Linked DNA regions of Homo sapiens: region 1 is linked to region 2. Evidence: promoter capture Hi-C in human tissues and cell types (Jung and others, 2019). All regions are on one chromosome and are shown on one strand. The core of a region is centred on a gene start or on the middle of the fragment in contact, and the rest is flanking DNA. Distances in the headings are between cores, read along the strand shown. Region 1 has its middle 130 kb from the start of LINC02815. Region 2 holds the start of ACTA1 (actin alpha 1, skeletal muscle).

Region 1 (6,903 bases), core at 1,390-3,889, 410 kb before region 2:
CCTGCGCAACATAACAGACTTATTTTCTACAAAAAATTTAGCTGAGTGTGGTGGTGCACACCTGTAGTCCTAGCTACTGCAAGGCTGAGGTGGGAGAATCACTTGAGCCCAGGAGTTCAAGGTTTCAGTGATCTATGATCACCCCACAGCATTCCAGCTCCAGCCTGAGTGACAGAGCAAGACCTTGTCTCTATAAGAAGAAGGAGGAGGAGGAGGAGGAGGAGGAGAAGGAGAAGCAGCAGAAGCAGCAGAAAACTCTTTTTTAAACTTGTTTGTCTCTGAGAAGGGAAACAAGCTAAATGCTATTGGTCAGTAATAACTTGGTAGAAATGCCCTCGGCTGGAATTTTCAGTGCCACAGCAAGTGGAGAGCCAGCATGATGGAGACTGGGCTGATGCAGGGGACTAGGGAGAGGCGGGAGCACCCACTGTGCAGGTAGCTGGATGCGACAAGCATGGTCTCACACTCCTCCTGCTTGCTCTGCGAGTGCCACTTGTGCTCGATTGAGCTGCCCTTCCCCAGGTCCCTCCATTTCTAGCTCCCGTTTGCCACTTAGCCACTCCCTGGCATATTTCAGGCCCTGTCTCAGTCTGCCCACAGCCAGGTCCCCACTACTACTTTGTGGGGACACTGCTGTTGCTCCTCCGTGGACAGAAGGCAATTCAGATGCCATCTCTGTGGCAGAGTGAGAGCTGCATGCCTCAGATCCCTGGGGAAGCCTCTCAGTGAGGCTGCAATTCCAGGTCACCATTTAGGGCTCCCATCCACAGCACTAACTGGCCGCCTTCTGAAAGATACTGAGTTTGGTCGTGTTAGAGCAACTTTTTTTTGAGGACCTCAAAGTGGCTTCATATCTCCATCTCCCTGCAGCCGATAACTTTTCTGGTAAGGCTTCAGAGGACAGAGATGGGGGCCCATCACAGAGACAGCCAGGCCTGTGGTGGTCCTGTCCTGGAGAAAAGGGTGCCTTCTGGCTCCCAGCTCTGCCTCCCAGATGGTGGCTGTCCCTTGTCCCAGTGGGCTCTGGCTCCCAAATGCTGAGCTCTGATGCAGCAGATGTGAATAAAGCCACAGACTGAGAGTGAATCTCTAACCGACACCTGTGCATGATCACTAGAAGGAGGCTCAGAGGAGACAGCCTTTCCCAGCAGGCAAAAGGAGACAAAGAGATGACTTTTCCATATGAGAATTATTTTCTGTGATTTAATATGACTCATTTATTGACTGCTTTCAAAACCCTGTGTTGCTGTGGTTGCAAAGGGAGAATGGTCACTGTCTTAGTCCATTCCAGCTGCTATAACAAAATGCCTTGGGCTGGGCATCTTCCAAGACACAGAAACTCCTTCCTCACTGCTGTGGAGGCTGGAACTCCATGAAGAAGGTGCCAAAGATTCCGTGTCTGGTGAGGGCTCATTTTCTGGTCCACAGACGGCACCTTCTTTCTGTGTCCTCACATGGTGGAAGGGATGAGGGAGCTCTCTGGGATCTCTTTTATAAGGCCACTCATCCAACTCATGAGGGCCCCACCCTCATGGGCTAATCACCTCCCAAAGGCCCCAACTCCAAATATCATCACATTGGAGGTTAAAATTTCAAAATATGAATGTTGGGGTGAGGGGGGGACAAACATTCAGACCATAGCAGTCCCCTTAACTTGTTTGTTTCTCTCACTTCCTTTCTTTGAAAGAAAGTTCCAATACACTGAGTGCTTCCCAAGAGCTCTCACACATAATCACACCATGCCTGCCATCCACTCTCTTAAGTACTACTGGTTTTCTTTACAACATTGATGGGGGAGAGAAGCTGGATTATGGAAGAAACTTTTACTTGTTTGTCTAGAAAATGTAAAAGAAGATAACAACAATTTTGAGCAACGGGAAAATGTAAATTTCTAAAAATCTTATCCAAGTGCTGGCAAGAAGAGGAACAGGGATTTATCTCTCCTCTCTGTCTGTCCCTGGAGCCCATGTTTTGTCCCCGCACCTCACCACCTCTTGCTCATTCTCCCTCTCAAACCCCTACCTGGAAACACGTGGCAATAATCTCAATTATGATAGCAGTGCAGAAGGAGGATCCCTATTTTACTGATGAGGTAAATGAATAACCTGTCCAAGGACAGAAACAAATAGGAAGCAGGCTAGGATGCAAACCTGGTCCCTGAGTGCATGACATCAGCCCAGCATGACCAGGGCAGTCCTAAGTCCTTCACCAGCCTGCCTGAATGGACAAATAAGTGTTCCCCTCCCAGCTCCACCACTGGGGACCTGACCCCTTCCCCGTCCTGCCTTCTTGGGATATCTGAGGACCAGAGAGGTAGCTCTCGAGACAAGGGCCGGAGGCAGCAAAAGGAAAGGGCGACATGGCCCGCTCTCACACTATCCACCCAGCACACACTGACTGTCTGAGAGCTGAACCCTCAGACTAAGGCACTCCCCCACTTTCACTTTGACAGGAGTTCTCTGCTCCTGCTGGCTCTTCTAGTTTTCTTGGCATTCTAGTCTTGCCAGGTGGCAGCACTTTGCTGAAACACTTGTGCAATCTCTATTCTTGAGCCGGTTCCGTGAAGAGCTAGCCTTGCCAGGCAGGCTAGCCAGGCGGGAAGGAGGACAGCCCCACCCTGTGCATCCTGAACCCACCAGCCTGGGACCAGGGGTAGTCCAGGCATGCTTGAGGTCATTCCTCAGTTTCCTACCCATCAGCCATGATCTCTCTCTGGCATTTCCACATCATTTGTATCCTTGTGTTTCTGCACCATCCTCTAATTATTTTTTCTAAATTCCTCTGGAAGAGGATTTGTGAACATTGCTATATCCCTAGTTCTAAGAATACATGAATTGTAACTAAAAAGAATTTATTAATTCCCAATTTACAAAGTGCTTTTCATAGATTGCCATTGTGCTGGTAATTCCTTTCCATTACTCTCCTGATTGTCCTCTAAATGTGCTAGCTAGCTCTTTCTCCTTCTGATTGGTCCTCAGTGAGCCATGGTTACATCAGGCCAGGGTTCCATCCAGTGGAGCTCCCAGTTGGGCAGTGGTGGGCACAGCGAGCCCAACTAGTCTGGTTGAATCCAGAGTCGAAGTTCTCCACCCTCCACTTGGGCCACCCACTGGGGACGGAGCATAAAGGGGTATGCCCTTATTTTCTTTTGTTTTTTTTTTTAACTCATTATTATGGAAAATTTCAAATATATATAAAATTACAGACAATATTTAATAATCCAACATATCCATTACCTGGTTTTAATAATTATCAACACATGGCAGACAGTATTTTGTCTATACACCCAGCAATTAACTGCTGCCTACCCTGACTATGGTATAACAAATACTAGTATGAACAAATATCATATCATTGCATATCTAAGTATTTCAATTGATAAGGGCTGTTTTTAAAAATATATGATTATGATAACATCATTCTTACTTTTTAAGAAATTAATGTTAGTCCTTAGTCTCATAATATACCCAGCCAGTGTTTGCATTTTCCCAATTGTCTTGTAATTTGTACTTCATTTGTTTGACTCTGGATTTAATAAGAGATTCATATACTGAGATTGGTTGATTTGTCTCTGAAGTTTCTTTCTATCTACATATTCTATAAATCCTCCTTCTTCTTCTTCTTTCTTCCTCTTCCTCTTCCTCCTCCTCCTCCTCTTCCTCCTCTTCCTCTTCCTCTTCCTCTTCTTCTTCTTCTTCTTGTTCTTGTTCTTCTTCTTCAATACAGTTTCATTCTGTCCCCCAGGCTGGAGTGCAGTGGCACAATCACGGCTCACTGCAGCCTCAACCTCCTGGGCTCAAGCAATCTTCCCACCTCAGGCTCCCAAACAGCCAGGACTACAGGTGGGTGCCACTATGCCCAGTGAATTTTTTTTTAATTTTTAGTAGAGATGAGGTCTCATTATGTGGCCCAGGCTGAACTCCTGAGCTCGAGCGATCCCGCCACCTCAGCTTCCCAAAGTGCTAGGATTACAGGCATGGGCACCTACACTTGGCCTTTTTTTCTTTACAAATTCTTATTGGAGAAGAAACCAGGTCATTTGTCCTGCAGTTTCCCCCAGTCTGGACTTGCTGCTATGTTCTTATGGTGTCATTTAACATGTCCCTCTGACCCTTGGATTTTTTTAAAAAGTGGAAATTAGATCTAAAGGACCTAGATCACATTGAGGGTTGATTTTCTTTTCCTAGGCGTGTGTTTCCATCAGGAATGACCTTGACTCTTAGGACCCTTGAATGGAAGATACTTCAGAGAATATGACTCCATCCAGGGCAAGGGTATTTGGTGGGAATATCAAAGGGAAATTCCCAGTGAGAGAAGAAGGACACTGGGGGTAAGACTGAAAAGTCTAAACTCTGTCTACCTCTGAGGCTGGCCCCTGTGACAACCACAAGTTGACCTGAAGCAGGCTGAAGTAGACTGTGTGATGTATTTTAACTTAAGTAATAGCAATTTTAGGATGTAAAGGCATCTCGTGTTGAGGCAACAGGAGGCCAACTTTATACATATTTGTATCTTGCCACAAACCCAGCATCATGCCAGGTGAGAAGCAAAGAAGATATCCCGATCTGATTTATTAGAGGCCTGTTTCACATCTCAATGTGACGTTTGTGGATGCTACTATCAAAATTTTTGTCCACATGTGTTTGTAAATATACACTCACAGACAACTTGTGACTTAGAGGGACACCGTGGAGTCTCACAGGCTTTAGCATTAGAGGGATATGGGTTCAAATCTAGCTTCTGCCACCCTCTAGCTGAGTAACTGTAGACAAAAGCTTTGGTCTCCTTGTCAGAAAAATTGGGATATTGTATCATTATTTACCTTATGGGTTGTGAATTTTAGAGAAAATTAGTATAAAATGCCTAGTATAGTGCTCTCAATAAATGCACACATGCTATCACTGTCTCAGGCAGTAGGTTCTATTGAATCACATTCTTCTACAACTGGAAAACAGCAATGTAGATGATCTCCTAGGGGTTGGGAGGGGATGATCTGTGAAAGTGTTGGAGCCATCTAGACACACTGAGTGGAGATGTAATTTGAGCCTGGGAGAGAATTCTCAAGTCAGTTCAAAGGGCTATAATTTCATTAATTCAAAATCCCACTTAAGTTGGGGAAAATGAGGTCCTAGGAGAGAAGCCAGATGTCAAGGACAAGCCCAGTTAGTGGATGAACTTTTTTGTAGCCAGCTGCCTCCCCAGGGCTCCCTGAACAAAGCATGCATTGTAGCTGCTGCGTGGGCCCCATGGCAGGAGGAGTACCCGGGAGCCAGAGCCTGGTGCATGGGGAGGAGGCGGGCCAGGGCCGCAGGGAGAGGCTTGGATGCCCTGGAAACACAACTGGATCAATTCAGCCTGACAAAATCTTTCCTCCTGCTAAAATTTTCCTCAAACAGAACAAAAGGGAAAGTCAGAGCATTTTTGCCAAATCAACCAGAGAAAGGAAAGCTGGCGCAAAGTTAATCACTATTTTCTTCCTGGCTGTCCAGGCCAGAGATACCCATGATGGGAGCAAGAACACTTGTCATCACCCGCTTGGTCACTATGGATGACATAGGAGCCCTTTCCTTGCAAACAAGCAATACAGAAAAGGAAGTGCCTGGGTCCCAACCCTGTAGGGTGCAGCCAGAACCCACAATGCACTATTCTCTGCAGATCAAGAGGCTTCTAATCTTACCTTGACTCACCGCCTTATCCAAACAGCAGAGCCCCTGCAAAACCCCTCTTTTGGAGAAGGAAATCTCGGGTGGGATAATTCATTGCAAACATCATTGATTAGTCCAGGGAGAGGTCAGGAGCTCCCTGGGGCAGGCACATCACTCTAGTCATGAAGGAAAAGACTCCACCATGGTGCCCTTTAGCATCACTAAGAAACGATTTCTAGACTGCTGGTCTGTCCTGCCAAAGCAAAATTACTCACAAGATATAACAGGCACTAGGTACAACAGTGTAGCACCAGCTTTTGCATAAAAAAGCTTAACTTTGAGTTGGGGATATGCCACTTCCAAGCAGTTGAACCTTGATCAATGCATTGACCCTCAGGGAGCCTCGGATTTCTCATTTATGAGGTGGACAGAATCAGAGGATGGTGAACGGCGTGGAGCAGAGGCAAGGAGGGTCTCCTTGGCTCATCTGCTGGGTCTGCTGCAGCCTACAGAGAAACCACAGGCTGTCGTACGCACATAACTCAGTAGTCCACTTCCTCTCTGGGACACACAGCAGTCCACAGCCTTGCTCCCATGGAGACAGCCAGCACAGCCTGCAGGCCATCAGCCCAGGAAGGGAACTGGCAAATTTTAGAGCACTAAGACGGCAGCTGATACAGATACTCGGTCGGCCCAGGCCACACCAGCATCCAGGTGACTGGGTCCTGCCAGATGGAGCATGGGACAACATAAAACTCCCAGCATCCACTTCTCTAAAGGGGAGAGTGTGCACACTAAGCCCACAGACACCTTCACGTCCAACATCGCCATCAACGCACCCAGGGCAGGGCAGTTCCTGGGATGTGGACCTGAGCCACAGCCTGGCCTTGTCAGTGCACCAGGTTCTGGGAGAGCAGCCAGACACAGAATGGTGGCAGATGCTCCACTCCTTAAAGAAACAGCAAATTGCGCAGTCCTTCCCTATTTCCCAGGCCTGGGGACTCCTCACATGAGCATGGTAAAAAATTTATATACTTATTCAGAGGTTTAAAAATCCCCCAAATATATAAATACACCAGCAAATCAAATGGCATTGCCATAAGGAGAGCATCCTTGGAATTTATCTATCCGTCTTTCAATTGGCCATTTAGCTCAGTTTGGGCCCTTAACAATACAAGCATGATAAGGTCTCGTCACTGTGTCTCCAGGATCTGATCACTGCAGACCCTGGGCAGTGATTAGGGAGCATGGGCTCTGG
Region 2 (6,581 bases), core at 1-2,500:
CGTAGGAATCTTTCTGACCCATACCGACCATGACGCCCTGCAGAGCCGAGACACCACGCACCCGTTAACGCCGCTCCGGGTGGCACCAGGCTGGCTTACGCGGGGACCCCGAGCCGGCTCCCTCTGCGGAGGGGCAGCCTGACCTGGTGTCGGGGGCGGCCCACGATGGACGGGAACACGGCCCTAGGGGCGTCATCCCCGGCGAAGCCGGCTTTCACCAGGCCGGAGCCATTGTCGCACACGAGGGCGGTGGTCTCGTCTTCGTCGCACATTGTGTCTAGTTTCTGCAAGGACAGGGAGACCGCGAAGAGGCGCGGTGCATCAGCGCAGAAGTCTCAGCGGCAGGGGGGGGTAAGCCTGGCTGGCCCCGACGTCCTCCCTCCCCAGGAACCTAGGGACATCTCCTGCCGGAGCCACTCAAATTCTGCCAGGGCGGCGACCAGGGGTTCTCTTCTCGACCTTTGCCCCGGCTAAGGGCTGCCCTGAACCAGGAAAAGGGGCACAGGGTCGCGAGACCCCACTGAGAAGTCCTCTGTCCACATAGCCAGGGGAACATGTTCCCCAAGACCTGTCTGCCCTCCCTGCCTGACACCTGTTCCAGGAGCTGGACGCTAGTGCCCATCCTCTCTGCGCCTCCCTGACCACATCTGTCACCTAGGGAGATAAGGCCTCAGCACTGCCTGCTTGCTGGGCCAGCGTGAGGGTGGAAGGAGATGCCCATGGGAAAGGCGTTGGCACCCCATCCAGGGAAGAGTGGCCTGTTAGGAACCCTGTGACATTTCAAACTCAGAAAGGGCCTTTTCGCCTGTTGGAAACCCAGAATGGGTGGTCCTGGCTGCTCGCTCATTCGCTCTAGCGCTAGTTTGGAAGGGAACTGCCTTGGCGACAACTAAAGCAAAACCGTTTATCTCCCTAGGCACATCCTACATGCCAGGTAAAGGAGCCCAAAGGGGCTAGAGAAAAATTTGGAGAAGTCTAATTTCCAGAGGCTGACTGTCTTGCCTCCTTTTTAAAGCGCGTGTGGCTCCGGAGACGAGGCACAGCGCTCAGGGCGCAGGCCTGGGGCTGACCAGGTGAACCGACTGGGTTCTGCCCCGGAGTCCTTCAGGTTCCCCTCGGTAGTGCCCTGTCCCCCTGTCCCCTCCCAACTCCTGCCCTACCTGGGCGGGTAGCTACAACTGCTACTCTCGGCTCGGGCCCTGGTCGCCGCGGAGGGGAAGCGAGGCTTCACTTGGCGCTGTCCGCTGCGGTGGCCGCTTGTCCCTCTGCTCAGGTTTTATATAGCCCGCGGGCATTCCCTCCGCGCCACCCCGCAGGAATGTCGCTGCCCTTCTCGAGCCATATTTGGGTGTTGGGCACTAGAGCCCCCTCCCTCGGCCGGTTCGCGGCCTGGGCCCCCGCCCGGGTCCCCTGCGTTGACCAAAGAAGGAGCGGGTTGGCCCGGTCCCAGGTAACGCGGGCCGGGCCGTATATGGAGTGTCTCCCTAGCGGGTTTGCCCCTCCTGACCCGACCCAGTTGCCCGCCGGAGGGGATGGGGTGGGGCGAGGGTCACCGCGTTCGCCGGTGGGTGCATGTGTGCGCCTGCGCTCCGGGAACCGCACCTGTCCCAAAGGCCTCCCCAACCATGTCCACTCTGAGCGCCCTGGGCGCTCGGGAAGGTGCCTGACTGCTGACTTCCAATATTTCAACTCCTCTTCGGGTTCTTTGCTCAGATCCCCAAACTCCCACTTGCGACTACCGGGAAGAGGGAGTCGTGTGGAGTGGTGGGCTTGGGAGGATTGGAGAAGCAGTCACTCCTGAGTCTCAGGAAGGGAAGGAAGGCGAACTCCCTCTCCTTTACGCCCCTGGAACTCCATTTCTCTCTTCCCACCCCCGAGCTCCCTGAATCCAAAAAGCTGAGCCACGTCGACCCCTTCCCCCACCGCACAGAGGGCCACCGGCGGCCGGAGGGCGCGCAGCTGTCGCAGGATAGACAACTGGCGGGGGGAGGCGAGGGCGGAGCGCCGGGGAGGAGGCGCGGGGGCTCCCGGGGATAGGCCTGTCAGGCGCAAAGCCTGAGCACACGGAGCTGTCCGCCTCAGGGACGCGCAGCGCCCTTGGGTCTCCTAAAGGGATTGAAGGGGTGAGGGTTCCCCTCCTGTAGGACGCACTGGCCCCAGGTTTTGGTGGGCTGAGGCCCTCCCCCAGCCTCTTTGGTGGCACTATGTGTGTCCCTCTCCTGGGGCTGAAAGACAAGGGTCACAACCCAGGACTGGCTAGACCTGGAGTGGAGGTGGAGATGGGTGAGGGGCTCTTCCTAGATGAGGCTTAGCTGGTCCTTCCTCCCAATAAATTGGAGGGGGTGGGGGGACAAGGACGCGGCACTCTAGGATGGGTGGCAGTTTTTCCTTCTGCAAAGGCTGAACAAACTCATCTTTATATTTAGAGGATGATGCCTGCCAAGGCCGGGCTGCCTCCCAGTCCACCTTGTAGTCATCATTTACCAGAGCCTGCTGCAGGTTCTATTTATATCACTGATATATGGGGCTATGCCTTTCAGATTTTCTAGAAGGATTTGGAGCTACTTATGGTAAAGTAGAGTGGGGGTCAGCAGAGGTTACCCAGTTGGTGCCTGTCCCTCTCTCTCTCTCTCTCTCTCTCTCTCTCTCTCTCTCTCTCTCTCTCTCTCCTTTTTCCCTAAGACAAGGACAGTTCTAACCTTGTGGAGGGCACAGGAGGAGCAGTCTTCTGTGATGAACTCAGGGACATGCTTTAAGGGGGTACATCAGTGATGTGGTGTGGGCCAGAACAGAATCACTCATTTTTCGGATGTGCTTAAGTGCTCCTAAAATAGTTGCAATTCACTTTTGGTAGTGGAACCCAGCAACTGGGACAGGTGTGGATTCTCTAAAAGGGGGATGGAAGCATATGCGACCCTCCTCTGTAGCCCACATCATGGCAGTTCATCCCAAAAATAAACAAGTATTAACAAAAATGTTCTAGTGAATAAAATGCTACCTTCCTAAAAATGATCAATTAAAAAATAAGGAGTTTGACTAGTATAGGGACTATGCGGTGAGGATAAAGTCTCCTATGGTTCCATATTTAGTTCTTCCAAGTATTTTGGAGAGTAAGTGAATAATTGACAGAACTGTATTTCCTTTTTAACATCCTGTGTCCTCCTGTGTCAGCGAGTAGTGGAGATACTAGAAAAAAACCACTTAGCAAATGAGCTGCATGTAACGTAAGGGGACTAGCTTACATTTGGGCCTTGAAGGTAGGAAATTTGCTGCCGTTCACTGGATACCTCAATATTTGTGCGCATTCCAAAGGAGAATGGGATTGTCACTATTTTTCAAAACTCTTGCTCAGTTCAACTCTTACCTTTCCTTACAGAAAGCTTTTCTAAGCTCAGTCTGTTACATTCAAACCCACACTAAAAGCTGACCATGATTAAAAACACTCACAAGCGAACAGAGACCTGCTAGTACAGCAAACTGTGGGAGATGGCCCCTGAGGTGGCCAGCCAGGCATCTGTTCCCTGCCCACATGATTTGCGGCTGGTTTAAATAGTCCCTGACAGGTCACCACAGGCCACCCTCAGTCCCATTCTGGTCTTGTTGCATTCTCATTGGCTTAGAGAATAGACTGAATGGTGGGTGGCAGAGCCACGTCTCCATACATGTATGTTTTGGGGGAGCGCAGCGGCGCCCTGCTCCGCCTTTTGAGAACTGTCACTAAGTAAAGGTCAGCCATGTAGGGTATGCTTGACAGGGAGTTCCTGCTTCTAAGTTTTCAGGTGCAGCCTCAGCTCTTCATACCCTGACCGGGCCCTTCTGCTACCACTACCCCGGTGTGTTCACACTTCCCTTCTCTCCAATTGTGCCCCTCAACACTCCACACACCCGTACCCCAATCTTGCTCAGTTCCAGTCTTCCTACTGTGTTTCCTATCAATTTAAACAGGAATTGGTAAAACACTTTATAATATGCTTTCGTGTTTCAATTAACCGTTTAACTATCCTAAGGTAAATAAGATAGGTATTACTCATTCCAGTTTTTTTTCTTTTTTAAAGAAAACTGAGGCTTAATGAGCTAAAACACACCCCAGGTTCCACAGCAGCCAGTGGAGGAGACGGGCTTGGGCTGTCCTTCCTTCTACTGCCAGTGGCCAGGGAGGGCAAGGACTGCTGCTTCTCTCTAATCCTCACCAACACTGGGTACAGTTCGAAACAGAACAGGCCCTTGAGGGATCTTTCCCAGTAATGAGCCAAAGACATCCTGACATGAAAAGCCGTAGCTTCCCCAGAAACTCAGCTTTGAGGGGCTGGCTGGGCACTCCAAGTTAGAGATATTCCAGGAACAGGGTAGACAAAGACCAACTCATTCTCACAAGCTACTTAAAAACGTCGGGTCGGCCAGGCGCGGTGGCCCATGCCTGTAATCCCAGCACTTTGGGAAGCCGAGGCTGGTGGATCACTTGAGGTCAGGAGTTCAAGACCAGCCTGGCCAACATGGTGAAACCCCGTCTCTACTAAAAACACAAAAATTAGCCAGGCGTGGTGGTGCACACCTATAATCCCAGCTACTCGGGAGGCTGAGACAGGAGAATCACTTGAACCTGGGAGGCAGAGGTTGCAGTGAGCCGAGATCCCACCACTGCACGCCAGGCCTGGGCAACAGAGAGAGACTCCATCTCAAAAAAAAAAAAAAAAAAAAAGTTGAGTCAACTCCTGGCAGCCCAAAGAAAGGGCTTGGGCTTGGATTTTCTACTTTTTCCTCCTCCTGAAGCTGGTGGTTTTTGCACTCATGGCCACCTCTAAGAACCTGATGATTCATTGGAGCAGTGCCCTCTCTTCAACATTCTTTATACCCAGAATATCATGAACTGGTTAGGAGCTTGCATTCTGGAATCAAGCAGAGCTGCATTTACCTTCCCCTCTGACTGGCTATGTGATCTTGGACAAGTGACTTTCCAGAAAGCATTCTCAACTCACAATACTCCTTAAGACTGATCTGAGGATTAAAACCAGGTGAGAGCTGAGTGCGGTGGCTCACGTCTGTAATCCCAGCACTTTGGGAGGCCCAGGTGGACAGATCACTTGAGGTCAGGAGTTCAACACCAGCCTGGCCAACATGGTGAAACCTGGTCTCTACTAAAAATACAAAAAAATTAGCTGGGCATGGTGGCGGGTGCCTGTAATCCCAGCTACTAGGGAGGCTGAGGCAGGAGAATCTCTTGAACCCAAGAGACAGGCTGCAGTGAGCTGAGATTGCGCTACTGCACTCCAGCCTAGGAACAGAGCAAGACTCCGTCTCAAAAAACCAAAACCAAAACCAAAAACAAAACAACAAACTAGGTGAGTACCTAAGACATATGAAACATTCAGCACATGGTGCCATGTCTTGCTTCCAATGACTAAGGGCTTGGGGCAGGTGCACACAGTGCAGTGGCAGAAAAGGTGAGAAAAGAACATTAAAGTCATTGGCCTGCTCAGTATACACACATCAATGTCACTGCAACTGAGCAAGGAGAGTCAATGTCATGTTCACCGTATTTGGAGGGCATAAAGATTTTTGTACAAAGATTTATTCTAGCATTATTTAAAATGGTCAAAAAAATGTGTCTTTTGAGAGAGAGCTACAGCAAGAGAATAAGGGCTGTTACATTAATTATGGTTCTGCCATATGGTAAAGTATCACGCATTTAAAACATTGTATTCTAAATAATAATTAAGATGGGCATTCTCAAAGGGGGAAAACTTGGTTCTTAGAGAGTGAAAAAAATTCAGATAGTACAATGGTTTATGGCTTCCAAAGGCCACAGTACATTTAAAAGATAGTCGGCCAAGTGTGGTGGCTCACGCCTATAATCCCAGCACTTTGGGAGGCCGAGGCAGGCAGATCACCTGAGGTCAGGAGTTCTAGACCAGCCTGGCCAACATGGTGAAACCCTGTCTCTATTAAAAATACAAAAATTAGCCAGGCATGATGGCGGGTGCCTGTAATCCCAGCTACTCGGGAGGCTGAGGCAGGAGAATTGCTTGAACCCAGGAGGCAGAGGTTGCAGCGAGCCAAGATCGCGCCACTGCACTCCAGCCTGGGTGACAGAGCAAGACTCCATTTCCAAATGAATGAATGAATGAATGAATGAATGAATGAATGATATATAGTAGGTCTGTGGTATTACACTTTCTTTGGAGTGGGAGGTGATTAGGAAAAACTGTCTAAAAAGGCTCCTCAGGAGGGGTGATAAAAAAAAAAAGGTCAAGAAACACTGGATTAAGGATACAGCAAAATGCTCACATCTCCCATGAGAAAAGTAGGTTACAAAATGAAAAAGCATATGCAGTCCAAAAGTCTATTTCATAATGGTGACTAATTATTTCCAGCTGGTGGGATTACAGAGGTCTATTTTCTTTTTCATTTTCTACAGTGTTTTTCTTAAAATTTAGAATTACATAATATTATTTGAGACAGGGTCTTAATCTGTCACCCAGGCTGGAGTGCAGTGGTGTGATCATGGCTCACTGTAGTCACAAACTCCTGGGCTCAAGCAATCCTCCCAACTCAGCCTCACAAGTAGCTAGGACTACAGGCAC

What was found. Contacts are between HindIII fragments. The study calls those that stand out against the background at their distance.
Region 1: a contact is called between a fragment that was not itself captured here and the fragment with the promoter of ACTA1 in region 2, in 1 of the 25 tissues and cell types used here (mesendoderm cells).

The regions. Positions count from the first base shown.
Region 1 is chr1:229,017,565-229,024,467 of GRCh38, forward strand. No RefSeq gene overlaps it. Among named protein-coding and RNA genes, the nearest start is that of LINC02815, 130 kb to the right of the region's middle. The HindIII fragment of the contact is 5,472 bases long and covers 1-5,375 here.
Region 2 is chr1:229,432,844-229,439,424 of GRCh38, forward strand. It overlaps ACTA1 (actin alpha 1, skeletal muscle), which reads right to left and starts at 1,251. Exons shown (of 7, transcript NM_001100.4): 1 at 1,161-1,251; 2 at 144-284; 3 at 1-37. The coding sequence starts at 272. RefSeq lists silencers at 959-1,253, 4,725-4,925, 5,391-5,470. The HindIII fragment of the contact is 14,149 bases long and covers 1-6,256 here.